3 separate regions of the Homo sapiens genome follow, and all the other regions are linked to region 3. Evidence: promoter capture Hi-C in human tissues and cell types (Jung and others, 2019). All regions are on one chromosome and are shown on one strand. Each heading gives the region's core, a stretch centred on a gene start or on the middle of the fragment in contact. The rest is flanking DNA. Distances are from core to core; before and after follow the strand shown.

Region 1 (4,650 bases), core at 1,879-4,378, 1.3 Mb before region 3:
GGAAGGAAGACTAGGTTAAGAAACACTGGAAGAAGATGGGAAAAATAGAGCATCCTATTAAGAGTTCCTTCGTTTTCAGCAACACAGGAAAAGAACATTCCTCTTAGGCGGTTTTGGATTTCAGATGCTTCTTGCCTTACCATAGACTCAAGTTCTGATAAACCCATGGTTAATGGAAAATAGTATATGTTGAAAATGCATTTTCAACTTATGACATATTCAATTTACAATGGGTTTTTCTGATGTAACCCCATCATGAGTCCAGGAGTGTGCTGAATGCATATTGCTTTTGAACTGTTCTAAAGTCAAAAATCGTAAATTGAACCATTATAAGCCAGGGACTTTCTGTACTTGATGTCTCAGGAAAGACCTGCATTGCAGTCCTGGACTGCAGCAGGGGGAAGCTGCACTTTTTTCAGAAAAAACAGCCTGGGAAGATGGAGGGCATGGCAGCTTGCACCATGGCGTGGGCATTTATGCACCGGCTGGGGAAGGCTATGCAGAGCAGAGGTACAGGGAAGAGGTGTGGGCTTTATCCTGCACCTCCTGAGGGTGGAAGCGGTGTGCCTCCTCCTTTACTCATCTGACAGTTTTGGAGCATCTGCTCTATGCCAGAAACTGGGAAGGAATTGCACACAGGACTGTAAGCTGTGGCCCTGCCCTCGATAAAAATAGCAGAGACTTATATAACGTTGTACATATCATCTACCAGGCAGTTTCTAAGTGCTTCTTAGAGATCATACCCATTTAGTCTTCACTACAAGCTCTTAGCAGAGGTAATGTTAATAATCCCATTTTATGGGATGAAACAGAGGCACAGAGAGGGGGAGATAACTTTCCATGGGCATACAGCTAGTAAGTAAGTGGCAGATCTGTGCAGTCAGTCAAGCTGGCTGGCCTGGGACTCTGTGCCGTCAGCACTACCCAGAGCTGCTTTTAAGAAACTCACGATGGAACTTCTATATCACACCTTAAAAAGCATTCTTCACACCCTGTCTTATTAGACCTTCACAATATTCTTGTTTTCTGTTACCCCAATTTAAAGGTAAGGAAATGAGGCTCAGAGAGATTTAAGGTAATTTCCAGGTCATGTTGTTAAAGTCAACCAGGGCTAAATACTGCTCTTCCCTCACCAAAACACGTGCCTTCTCCATCGCCTGCTGTGGTCCATGGGAGACACTATGGGGTTACAGATTTTTGGCTCAATATGTGAGATTTGTTTAAAACAGAATGAGTGACTTTGCATGATAATGCACTCGATGGAGGTGACAGTGGATAGTAGAAAACAGACACTGTCCCAAGCCTGTTAAATGTCAAGTGTTTTCCCTGCTTCTCTGGCCACTCCAGTGCCTCTTCCACAGTCCCAGCATCTTCCCCTCCTGGACCCCAGCAATCAAAGAGTTAAACCCACACAGCAGGGGGTTTCCGGGACTAGCTGTGGTGCACTCTGATTGGCTGCTGCCCATCTGGGAGGTACTTATGGTAAAATATTTTGAATATCACATCTTATTATAAATATACTGTGACAAGGCCAGAGTGCCCTGGTTGACCATGTTGAATTGTGTCTCCCTGCATGTGGAAGTCCTAACCCACAGAATCTCAGCATGGGATCCTAGTTGGAAGTAGGGTCTTGACAGATGTAATCAAGTTACAGGGAGGACATTAGGGTGGACTCTAATCCAGTATGACTGGTGTCCTTATAAAAAGAGAAAATTTAGTCACAGAGATCCATGCATAGAGGGAAGACGATGTGAAAGAGACACAGGGAAAATATGGCTATCTTTTTGTTTTTAAGACAGAGTCTTATCCTGTCGCCCAGGCTGGAGTGCAGTGGTGCGATCTCGGCTCACTGCAACCTCCGCCTCCCGGGTTCAAGCGATTCTCCTGCCTCAGTCTCCCAAGTAACTGGGATTACAGGCACCCACCACCATGCCCGGCTAATTTTTTGTATTTTTAATAGAGATGGGGTTTTACCATGTTGGCCAGGCTGGTCTCGAACTCTTAATCTCAGGTGATCCACCCACCTCGGCCTCCCAAAGTGCTGGGATTATAGGCATGAGCCACCCTGCGTGGCCGAAGATGGCCATCTTTAAGCCAAGGAATGGCTGAGGCTATCAGAGCTGTGAGAGAGGTCTAAAATAGACCCTTCCAGGCTGGGAGCAGTGGCTCACGCCTGTAATTCCAGCACTTTGGGAGCCTGAGGTGGGTGGATCATGAGGTCCGGAGATCAAGACCATCCTGGCTAACATGGTGAAACCCCGGCTCTACTAAAAATACAAAAAATTAGCCGGGCATGGTGACACACACCTGTAGTCCCAGCTACTCGGGAGGCTGAGGCAGAATCTCTTGAACCCGGGAGGCGGAGGTTGCAGTGAGCCGAGATCGCACCATTGCACTGCAGCCTGGGTGACAGAGTGAGAGACTGTCTCAAAAAAAAAAAAAAAAGACCCTTCCAGAGAATCTTCTGAGGGAGCATAGCCTTTGACCCTTGGATTTTGGACCTCTGGCCTCCACAACTGTAAGAATATAAATTTCTGTTGCTCTAAGCCATCCAGTTTATGATACTGGTTATAGCAGCCTTGGGAAGCGAGCACAGCCACCTCTAACAAATGTTAGATAATGTATTTTGTCTTGAGATTGGCGGTTACACCAGCAAAATACTACAGTCTCCTCCAACACTAAGAGTTGTTTCTGTGAATGTGTATTCAATTTTTTTCATGATCTTAGGTAATGAGATCTCCCTATTTGCTCAAAAATAAACTATAACAACCCCCAAATCCCTAACAAGTACGATGATTTTCTACCAGTGAAACTAGTCAGCTTAAATGCCATCCGATTTTTCCCACGGAAGATTTAATAGAAGAGATTTATTTTAGTAAAAGACAAAATGTTTCACTAAAGAACTCATTAGTAATGCATAAAGGGCTACTGGGTCTCTGAAGATCCATTTTCAAAGAGAAATGTTGGGATAATTTTTGTATTCTGATTACAGAGAATGACTTGATAAAAATCATCCTTGATATTAAAATTGCATGGAGGGGAAAGAAAATCATTCAGTCTAGCAGGATGGAAGTCAAAGAAAATGGGTGAATGTGGCCAGCAATTAATTTGGAGTTGCTTTTACAAGCTAGATAGATGTGCATTGGCAGAGTCTCACCCGTGACACGGGTGGGGTCATCTTCGCTGGCACTTTGACATACAGAGGGACAGTGGTAGGGAGGAGGACAGGGGAGAGGCCTGCTCTATTCAGCTGGAGTCTTCTATCACCCTCACGACCACCCTGCCTATTCATTCCTTCTCATCAGGCCCAGCCTTTAGTGCCCTTGGTCATTGCCAGAGCTCCCGCCTGGCCAGCACTCCCCCAGTGAGACCCAAGTCCCCAGAATCAATCCTCAAGTGACACTGAATCTTTGCACCAGCTGATGCTGACTCATGGCCCTAGCTTTGACTAGACAGCTGCTCTGTTTCAAGCCCTAACACCCGCCGGGTGTCCCACGTCTTATGCTACAGGGTCCCGCAGGCTTCTCTTTTTGCCTCCAAGTTCAAGGTCTGAGAACCTGCCTCCCTCCAGGCTCCTTACCAGAGTGAAGCTCTGCCTTTTGCCTTTGCCTCCAGAAAACCCTGCCTGTAGGCTGGGGTCCTGTGTCCCCTGCTGTGCAGCTGTTGCTCACTCACCCTTTCTGAGGGTCCCCATCCAGGGTTTTTCTTCACTGTGGTCCACCCTCAGTAGATACCTGCTAATTTTTCTCAGAATTCCTGCTGCTGCATGTTTCTCCAGTACGTACCTAGAGAGGGCGGAGACCTTGAGACAACACACCCAGGCTCACAGCATTGAAATCTCCATCTCTGTGTCCCAGTGGGCAGAACTAACTTCAGACCCTGGGGTCTCTTCTGGTCAAATTCAGCCCAACTTAGTGAGCTATGACATTACTTCCTCTTTCTCTTAGGACCTGCCTGTAAACTGTGGAAGAAGTCTTTTCCCTCAGCAAACCCCAGCTGTTCTTCATCTGTCACTGCTGGCTGGATACTTAAGCTCTGGGTAGTCCAGAAACTGCTAGTCAAATGTATTTACAAACTGAATTGATGCATTATTATGAAGTCCAATTTTTTATTTTTTAAAAAGGAATTACATAGATGGTAATAATACTTGGTAACAGCTTTTGAATGCAGTCAAATACCATTGTTATTATTTTTACTCATTAGATGCATGCTAGACACCGTGCTGTTTCACATGCAAAATCTCAGACAAACATTTGAGAGGGGGAGGTGCTCTTAATATCCCTATTTGACAGACAGAGAACTGAGGCCTGAGGAGATGAATGATCTTGTCCTAGGGTGTGCAAGTAGCAAGATACAGAACCAGGATTTGAACCCAGGCAGTGTGACTCCAAAGCCACTGCTCTTAATCACTATACTTCTTCCACACATTCATATGGTTATAAAAACTAATTATGTTTGCCGAATTCTCACAATGTGCCAAGCATGCCTCTAAGTGCTTTACAGGAATGATCTCCTTAGTGTTCACAATATGCCTTTCAGGTAGGTCTTATTTTTATGCCCATTTTGCAGATGTGGAAACCAAGGCACAGAGAGGTTAGATAACTTGTCTAAAGTGACACAGCTAGTAAGAGGAAGATCCAGACTTGAACC
Region 2 (4,149 bases), core at 161-2,660, 1.1 Mb before region 3:
GTTTCATAGTTTTTTACATTTAAAAATGACCTCTTGCCCCACACGCCCACTTCTCAATCTTCCACCTTTATTCAGGACTGCCAATTTCTCACTGGGTGATAGAGTCATTTTACACTAAGGAGTGAATGACTAATAAACATTTCCAACCAGAGGAATGCACCTGAAAAAAGATATATATAAGACAATAAGAAAGAAATGATGATTAAGTGAGTTTTCAAGTAGTTAACATGTAGAATTATTTCTAGGTGGGGTCCAGGAATGGGTATATGTTTATTGCAGGGTGGACTGGGATTCTGATTCTCTCTGGTTGGTCTGAGAACAAAATTCAATATGGAAATTGAACTCAGAGAGGCTCTGATCCAAGTCAAGCACAATATAAGAACAAAGAGGCTGGAAAGAGAATCAGGAATGTTTAGGTCTAACCTGGAAAGAAGAGCTTAGTGCCACAAAGCAGAGACCAAATGGAGCAATGGAGGCAATAATGCCACCAATGGAAGTTGCCATGGAAACCCTCATCAGCAAGCAGGCAATTGGATTTTGGAAACTGACCGAAGCAAGACTTGATGGCAAGAGAGAGAAGAAAAGGATGAAGCCCTAAAATGAAGTCAGACATTGAAGACGAATGGAGTGACCCCATTGCCCTTGTGCCAAGGAAAGTGCACATCACTGGTACATGACTAAACATGACAGATCTGAACAGCCAATCTCTCCAGCCAGGAGGTCCATGAGCAAATGTGTGAGAATCTGCCTTTTGGTGGCATTACAGAGCTCATGATTCATCCTGCAGAACCATGTGATAGGTGGGTGGAATCTCTTTTAAAATATTTCCAAGAAGAATAGGTAGCATGTCCATACCTAATTTTTAGCAGAAATTATTTCTCCACTGAAATATTAAGAGCAGAGGCAGGTAAAATGATTACTGCCATGATTTTTCCCACTCAGTATCCCCTTCTGAATGTGGATATGAGGATTGTGCCAGCATACCAAAGATTGATTTCTCTGTTTTCTGGCTGAAACTGATCCTGAAATTATATGATTATATGGACTTACAACATTGGCACTCGTAATGCACATGGATTGGTTTTCCATAAATTATCACTTGAAGAAAAGTCTGTGGTACTAAATGTACACATGTGGTTACAAAAATTTTCCAGAGAGGAAAAGCCGAGAGAATGCCAGAGAAAAGAAAGAACTCTTTCAGCATCACACAGGAACTACAGAGGGCTGATTCAAAAGTGGAGTATACACATATCACTGATCCCTGAAATATGGAATGAGAGATTCCTCAGGACAATGAATACGCTCTTGGAAATAGTGTATATTAGAAAAAAGTAAAACAAGTTACCATGATGTAATATTGTATGTAGCAAGAAAAGAGCAGGTGCCATCAGGAATTTGAAGATCTGCCATGAGTGTTTCTGACCAGAGTAATGCTTCTATGTTCAATAATATAATATATATGCATTATGATCCTAGTAACTTCCTTTTGTAATTATAAGTTATATCCCAACTTGAGGCTGGCTACAAGAAGGACTTGAAGTGAAATGACAGGATAGAAAAATGCTATGCTTTTAAGGAATTGCTATGTTATTAGCTTAATGCTATAACCTTGACAGGCCCAACTGAGGAGTGTGCTGGGACTTCAAGTCCAGACTAGAATAGAAGAAAAGAGACTAGAACAAAAGAGGGATGAGGCATGACCAGGTCACAACAGCAAAGTTGGCGTATGATTTGTCACCTGGAGAGAGGGGGCGAGGATTTAATGGTTAATCACATTGACTGGAACCAAAAAGGAGATTATAGCCAAAGAATGAGTAAAGAACTAGAGCAGATGTTTCCAGGCAGTAGTAAATATTGAAGTTGAGTGATGGCAGCCCTTTGGTTCCAGAAAGGTTGTCCAATTCAGAGCACGACTTCAAGAGGTAGAGTAGGCATGAGAGTTAAGGGGTGAGAGTTAAGTTCCCTCATATGACAGGCCAGTAAAATTTAGGAAAGGCACCAAAGTCTTAGCCAAGTGGGCTGGGATCCACCACGTGGGGTTGAATGCATGCAATGGACCCAAAACACAAGCCAGGAACGTAAGCAGGCATGGAATCTTATAGATTTCTGCAACCACAGAGGGAATAAAAGGCTACATCTTAGCAAGCTTGAAGCTGAGACTTGGCTTAAAATCATTTCCATATAATAGACTGCCTGATTTGTGGTAGTCAAGGTTTGGTTGAGAAAGGAGAAACCACTGCAGATATTTCCAGCAGAAAAGATTTGATGCAGGGAGTTTAAGGTTCACAAGACCTTTGGGAGGCTAAGGGAACAAAGGTCAGTAAGAGCTGCTTTTAGAATTTAAGAAAACTTACAACTATAATTTGTCAATTAATAATTAAAAAGTAAAAATATTAAAAAAGAATTTAGGAAATCAGGAAGTTCAGGAATTGCAGGAAACTTTAATCAAGATCTCAGATGCCTGCAACAGCCCTATAGGTGATTTACAAAAGGACTCTTGGAAGTCATGGTCAAATCTCACGCAGGCCATCTGCAAAAGTCCCTAAACCTGACTGTTGCTGCCACAGGAACAATACTTCTGTCTCCTTCTCTTCTACCTCTGAATTTCACTTAAGATCTTCCTATTCACAGAATTGAAGGAGGCTTCTGGGAAATGTAGTTCCCAGGCTTCGAAGCCCCTGTGATCCAGAACACAGAAAGGGGGAAAGAGATAATCTGGCACAAGGCCTAAGTGAAAAACAATATCCCGAGTGGAGGTAAAGATGTGATACTAAAATAACTCCCAGAAATGGGTCAGATTGAAACAGGAATTTGGTAAGGCTGGGGCGTGGGATGAACACTGAGGAACAAAGTCCAGTAGATCCTGTGGAGGCAGCAGATGCTACGTAAGTGCTTGGAAGGACAGATTGAAGAGCAGGTGAGACCATGTTGGGTAAGACAAGCAAGATGGGGTGTATGGTGTGTGCAGTGCTACTACCTCCAAGAGCGACATGATCCACTTTATGTTCTAGAACTTTCATTAAAGCATGGGGTATAAATGAAAGGCATATAGCACAATTGTCTGGGAGGCAGGATTGCCAGTTAAAAGGAAGCTTCTATAGTCGTCCAGCCATTTAACTGATAGTTATTGAAAATGTCCTATGAATAAAACATTCTTCCAGACTAGGAAAAAATTAAAGTAGCCTGAATTAGAGCAATAGTATTGGAGCTAGAAAGAAAGAGAAATGTGAAAGGAAATTGAAAAAGAAGTTGATAGAACTTGACAACTGAATGGAGAGCAGGTAGAGAGGAGTCCAAATGGGACTCACTAACCTGTGGTCTGGGTAACCTTGAGTAACAACTGCTCATTGAGATGTGGAGCATGGAATACAACTTGAACTTGTGTGGTTCTGTTTTGGATAGGTTCTGTGTGAAGCCCGTTAGGATGTATAAATGGAGAAGTCCAGCAACAATGGAGATGTGGGGCAGATTGGTCTTCTGCATTCCTGACGGACCAACACAGCTGGCCACACATGCAAATGGAAGTAACAATGACCTACAGGTGTGATTCTGGAGGCGCTGATAAGGGCCATCCATCTAGAGAAGTTGTTTCCTCATTCTATGCCCTAAACCAGTTTGATGTCTGAAATCCAACTATTAGCACTTCACACTGTTAGCATAAAGTTAAAGCCTATTAAGCTTTTGCATGTGAGTACCTCCCTACAGCGTGGGAGACTGGAAAGGCCACTTAACTCACACTTAGCCTGAAGACAGTCCCAAACATTGATATGTCCCAGTTAACAACTGCTCTCAGAGTTAAGAACATGGCCTTGAATAACTGGGACAAGAAGAATCTTTGGATCCTACATAAAGCAGCGATGGGTCAGAGAGATATCAAGGGTTCATAGACTGGGAAAACCTTCCTGCAACTCTGTCTTCTGTCTTTCTTTATAGGCCCCCTTCCTGCTTTATAATTTTTACTTTATTTCTCTATTAATAACTTGATTGTTGAAGCCTCAGGAAATTCCAAGGCTATTTCTCCCATCAAAATGAAAGAAATGCATTAAATGGTGCATTCCCATTAAACTATGATTTACATTATATGTAATGTATATTACATATACATTAATATAGATTAATAAAAATGGAAGCACTCTGTTGGAGGGGAAA
Region 3 (4,421 bases), core at 1,085-3,584:
TAAGATAAAATGTATAACAAATATATTCATAGATGGCCTAGATTAGATTAATTTTATTCTCTTTAAAAGAGAAATGAGCATTCTCACTATTCTGAACTCACATATAGTGAAATTTTTACTAATATACATTTTATTAGTGTCCTTTAATAGTCTATTTAATGTGCCTTTTATATGGCCAATTATTTCTTAAAGATTTGCAGTCCATTGGATATGCTGACATGTAAGACATTCACTGTCAATATTTTATTTCCTTAATCCCACAATCTCAATAAAAATTTCGGTCTAAATATGAGTGGAAATGGGGAGTTAATTAAAGCAAATAATTGTGAAAGATTCGTAATGTATTTTTCTCGTATACACTATGGATAGAAATGAAGTGCATTTGCCTTAGCTTTCTACATTCTTTCCATAAAGCAAGGGTTCTTCAATCTTCATGGAGTCCCCAAATAACATGTGAATGTGAAGTATTGTGCTAGGTACTGCACGGGATGCCAAAGATGAACAAGGCATGAGTTCTGGGGGAATATACTATCTCTCACAGGAGAAATAAGTAAGTAGCGTACTCAAGTATTAAAGTGAGAACTTAAGTGCTATATGGCAGTTACAATAAAGAGGAAATTTAAAGTAAGGATAGATCATACCAAGTAGGATAAATCAGGAAATGAAGGCTAAACTTTGGAAGTGAGAAATTATTCTGGAAATTCGTGGAACTGCTTAGCGGAATAGGGTTTTCTAAGGAAGGGTACTGACTAAGCAAATGAAACGAAAAAAGGGAATGACTATGTTTCCGCAACTTCAAGAGATCCAGCTTCCCTGCAGGGCAAAGGAGTAACAGGAGAGAAAAAAAGCAATGAATCCGTGCATCCGCTAAACTCTTTTACCATATATTTTACTCTGACAAAACAACTATCACGTATTGGCCTTTTGTTTGTTTGTTTTTTTGAGACACGGTCTCCCTCTTTCGCCCAGGTTGGAGGGCAGTGGCGCAATCACCGTTTTCTGCAGCCTCTACCTCCTCGGCTTAAGCTACCTTCCCGCCTCGACCTTCCAAAGTGCTGGGACTACAGGCGTGAGCCACCATGCTCAGGCTTATTGGCACTTTTCTGTGCACTTTTAAATGTAATCCTCTAAATCACTCTTCTCCACCTTTCCTGTGCATAGGAATCACCTGTGGTTCCCGTTAAATTGGAGATCTTGATTCATTAGGTCTGGGGCGGGGCCTGAGCTTCTGCATTTCCATTGAGCTCACAGCTGAAGCCTACCCTGGACCACACCTTCCAATGGAAAAGGCTCCAGTGTGATTTCTAGCCACTAGTATTATCTGCGAACTTGGGAGAAATAAAATGCAAGTTCTCGGCCCCCGCAAGGGCTCTACTGAATCCGAAACACTGTGGGGAGGCCCACCACTCTGCAGTGTTTTAACAAGCAAGTGGTTAAAGTTTGAGAGCCACCCGTAAGTCACGGGTTTCCTAACATGATTGGACACTGGAATCACCTGCGGATTTTTTTTTTTTTTTTTTTTTTGAGACGGAGTCTCGCTCTGTTGCCCAGGCTGGAGTGCAGTGGCGGGATCTCGGCTCACTGCAAGCTCCGCCTCCTGGGTTCACGCCATTCTCCTGCCTCAGCCTCCCAAGTAGCTGGGACTACAGGCGCCCGCCACTACGCCCGGCTAATTTTTTGTATTTTTAGTAGAGACGGGGTTTCACCGTTTTAGCCAGGATGGTCTCGATCTCCTGACCTCGTGATCCGCCCGCCTCGGCCTCCCAAAGTGCTGGGATTACAGGCGTGAGCCACCGCGCCCGGCCTGCGGATTTTAACTAATACTACTGATGCCGCATCTCACCCCCCCTCCCGAGATTCTCAGGTACGGGGCGTGGCCTTGGCGGCGGCCTTATAAAAGCTCTCCCAGGTGATTCCAACCTGTAGTAACACTTGAGAACTGCGTGAGGTGGGGACTTCAACTTTAACTGGACTTATTTTCCTCCTATGTAAAAGGTGGACAATATGCAAGTGGTCCTGACTTTGCTTCCAGATTTTGGCAACTCCAGAGCCCTAGTTCGGTCTGGAGAGCCAGCTTCCCGCCCCGTGTCCTAAGGCCTCTGTCCGAGAACCCAAAGTCCTGGGAATGGACCCGCGGGAGCGGACCCGCGGGAGCATCTGTGACGCCGCTCAGCAACCCGGCGCCGCCCCGGCGGCTCCGACGTGGCCCAGTGTCCGGCTGGCGTGGGCTCTCCAGGCCGCACCCACTAAACCGCGCCGGAGCGGGACACGCATGCGCCGGTCTGGACCCGGCACCCAGTAACGGACTCGAGCTCCTCCCACCGGAAGTGGGCAGCCGCGCAGCGGGAAGAGCCGGCCGAAGCGTGGCGGCCACAGACTGTGGGTACCGGGTCCGAGGGACTCGCGCTTTTCTCTCCGTGCCATGGCGCCAGCGAAAGCCACGAACGTGGTGCGGCTGCTACTAGGCTCCACAGCGCTGTGGCTTTCGCAGCTCGGCTCCGGGACGGTCGCCGCGTCCAAGTCGGTGACTGCCCACTTGGCCGCGAAGTGGCCCGAGACCCCGCTGCTGCTGGAGGCAAGGTGGGTGCGGGCCGGGCCCTCGTCCGGGCGGGTGTGGGCGCGCTGCCACCCTCAGCCGCGCTTTCTTCGTGCTCGCAGCGGGTGTCTGGCTCCCACCCGGGTTCTCCAGACGCCCCCGCTCTGGCCCTGAGCATCACCACCTCCTTCCTTCCCGACCCGGGGCGGCTTCTCGGTTCCCGTGCAGCACTCACTTGCAGTTCCTTTCCCCCTCAGTCTTACTTTACCTACGATTTTTAAAGCTTCCCTGCCCTGCTTTAATACGTTGGGATGTATTAGCATTTACGCGTGGCACTTAACGCAAGAGCTTCTACTGGGGTAGGCAGTTCTGTTCAGACAGTGCTTAAAGTACCTAGTTTCGTAATGATGACATCATACCATCAGCTCCTAGGCTTACTATGGGGAGGGCAGCTTCCTGCAAGGTAATATTTTTCCTGTATCTCTTCCAACGGAATTAGTTCATGACCTGTCATTTACTCTGCAGAACAAAACTTGTAGCTATTGCATTTTGCCCTTTAGTATTCTAGTTGAGTAAAATTAGAAAGTTCTTTCTCTTAGCAAAAATGAAGTTTTACACCAATGACTTAATGGCTGTTCACCACAGCAACAGTGTGTGTCCCTAAAAAGAGACTCCATGACTCCACATAAGTTCATGTATTTGATGCTAAAAGTTCTTTTTTTTTTTCATTTCTATAGTTTATTGGGGAACAGGTGGTGTTTGGTTACATGAGTAAGTTCTTTAGTGGTGATTTCTGAGATTTTGGTACACCCATCACCCCATCAGTATATACACTGCACCCAATTTGTAGTCTTTTATCCCTCACTCCCTTCTCAACCTTTCCCCCGAGTCCCCGAAGTCCATTGTGTCAATCTTATGCCTTTGCATCCTCATAGCTTAGTTCCCACATATCAGTGAGAACATACTATATTTGGTTTTCCATTTCTGACTTACTTCACTTAGAATAATAGTCTCTAATCTCATCCAGGTTGCTGTGAATGCCATTAATTGATTCCTTTTTATGGCTGAGTAGTGTTCCATCATATATATGCCACAGTTTATCCACTCGTTGATTGATGGGTATTTGGATTGGTTCCACATTTTTGCACTTGTGAATTGTGCTGCTATAAACATACTTGTGCAACTATCTTTTTCATGACTTCTTTTCCTCTGGGTAGATACCTAGTAGTGGGATTGCTGGATCAAATGGTAGATCTACTCTTAGTACTTTGAGGACTCCCCACACTGTTTTCCATAGTGGTTATACTAGTTTACATTCCCACCAGCAGTGTAGAAGTGTTCCCTGTTCGCTGCATCCACGCCAACATCTATTATTTATTTTTATTTTTTTATTATGGCCATTCTTGCAGGAGTAAGGTGGTATCGCATTGTGGTTTTGATTTGTGTTTCCCTGATCATTAGTATGTTGAGCATTTTTTCATGTTAGCCATTTATATATCTTTTGAGAATTGTCTATTCATGTCCTTAGCCCACTTTTTGATGGGACTGTTTTTTTTTTCCTGCTGATTTGAGTTCCTTGTAGATTCTGGATATTAATCCTTTTTCAGATGTATAGATTGTGAAGATTTTCTCCCGTTTTGTGGGTTGTCTGTTTACTCTGCTGACTATTCCTTTTGCCGTGCAAAAGCTGTTTAGTTTAATTAAGTCCCAGCTATTTTTTTTATTATTATACTTTAAGTTCTAGGGTACATGTGCACAACGTGCAGGTACATAGATATACATGTGCCATGTTGGTGTGCTGCACCCATTAACTCATCATTTACATTAGGTGTATCTCCTAATGCTATCCCCCGCTCCCCCAACCCCACAACAGGCCCTGGTGTGT

What was found. The method cuts DNA at HindIII sites, captures the fragments that hold promoters and counts their contacts. A contact is called where the count stands out against the background at its distance.
Region 1: a fragment that was not itself captured here is called in contact with the fragment with the promoter of UGGT2 in region 3 in 1 of the 25 tissues and cell types used here (dorsolateral prefrontal cortex).
Region 2: a fragment that was not itself captured here is called in contact with the fragment with the promoter of UGGT2 in region 3 in 1 of the 25 tissues and cell types used here (dorsolateral prefrontal cortex).

Annotation. Positions count from the first base shown.
Region 1 is chr13:97,318,057-97,322,706 of GRCh38, reverse strand. The region is part of intron 2 of MBNL2 (muscleblind like splicing regulator 2); the gene reads right to left. Among named protein-coding and RNA genes, the nearest start is that of MBNL2, 98 kb to the right of the region's middle. The HindIII fragment of the contact is 6,416 bases long and covers 1-4,650 here.
Region 2 is chr13:97,117,139-97,121,287 of GRCh38, reverse strand. No RefSeq gene overlaps it. Among named protein-coding and RNA genes, the nearest start is that of LINC00456, 60 kb to the left of the region's middle. The HindIII fragment of the contact is 3,950 bases long and covers 1-3,385 here.
Region 3 is chr13:96,051,314-96,055,734 of GRCh38, reverse strand. It overlaps UGGT2 (UDP-glucose glycoprotein glucosyltransferase 2), which reads left to right and starts at 2,334. Exons shown (of 39, transcript NM_020121.4): 1 at 2,334-2,580. The coding sequence starts at 2,423. RefSeq lists an enhancer at 2,073-2,572. The HindIII fragment of the contact is 5,467 bases long and covers 1-4,421 here.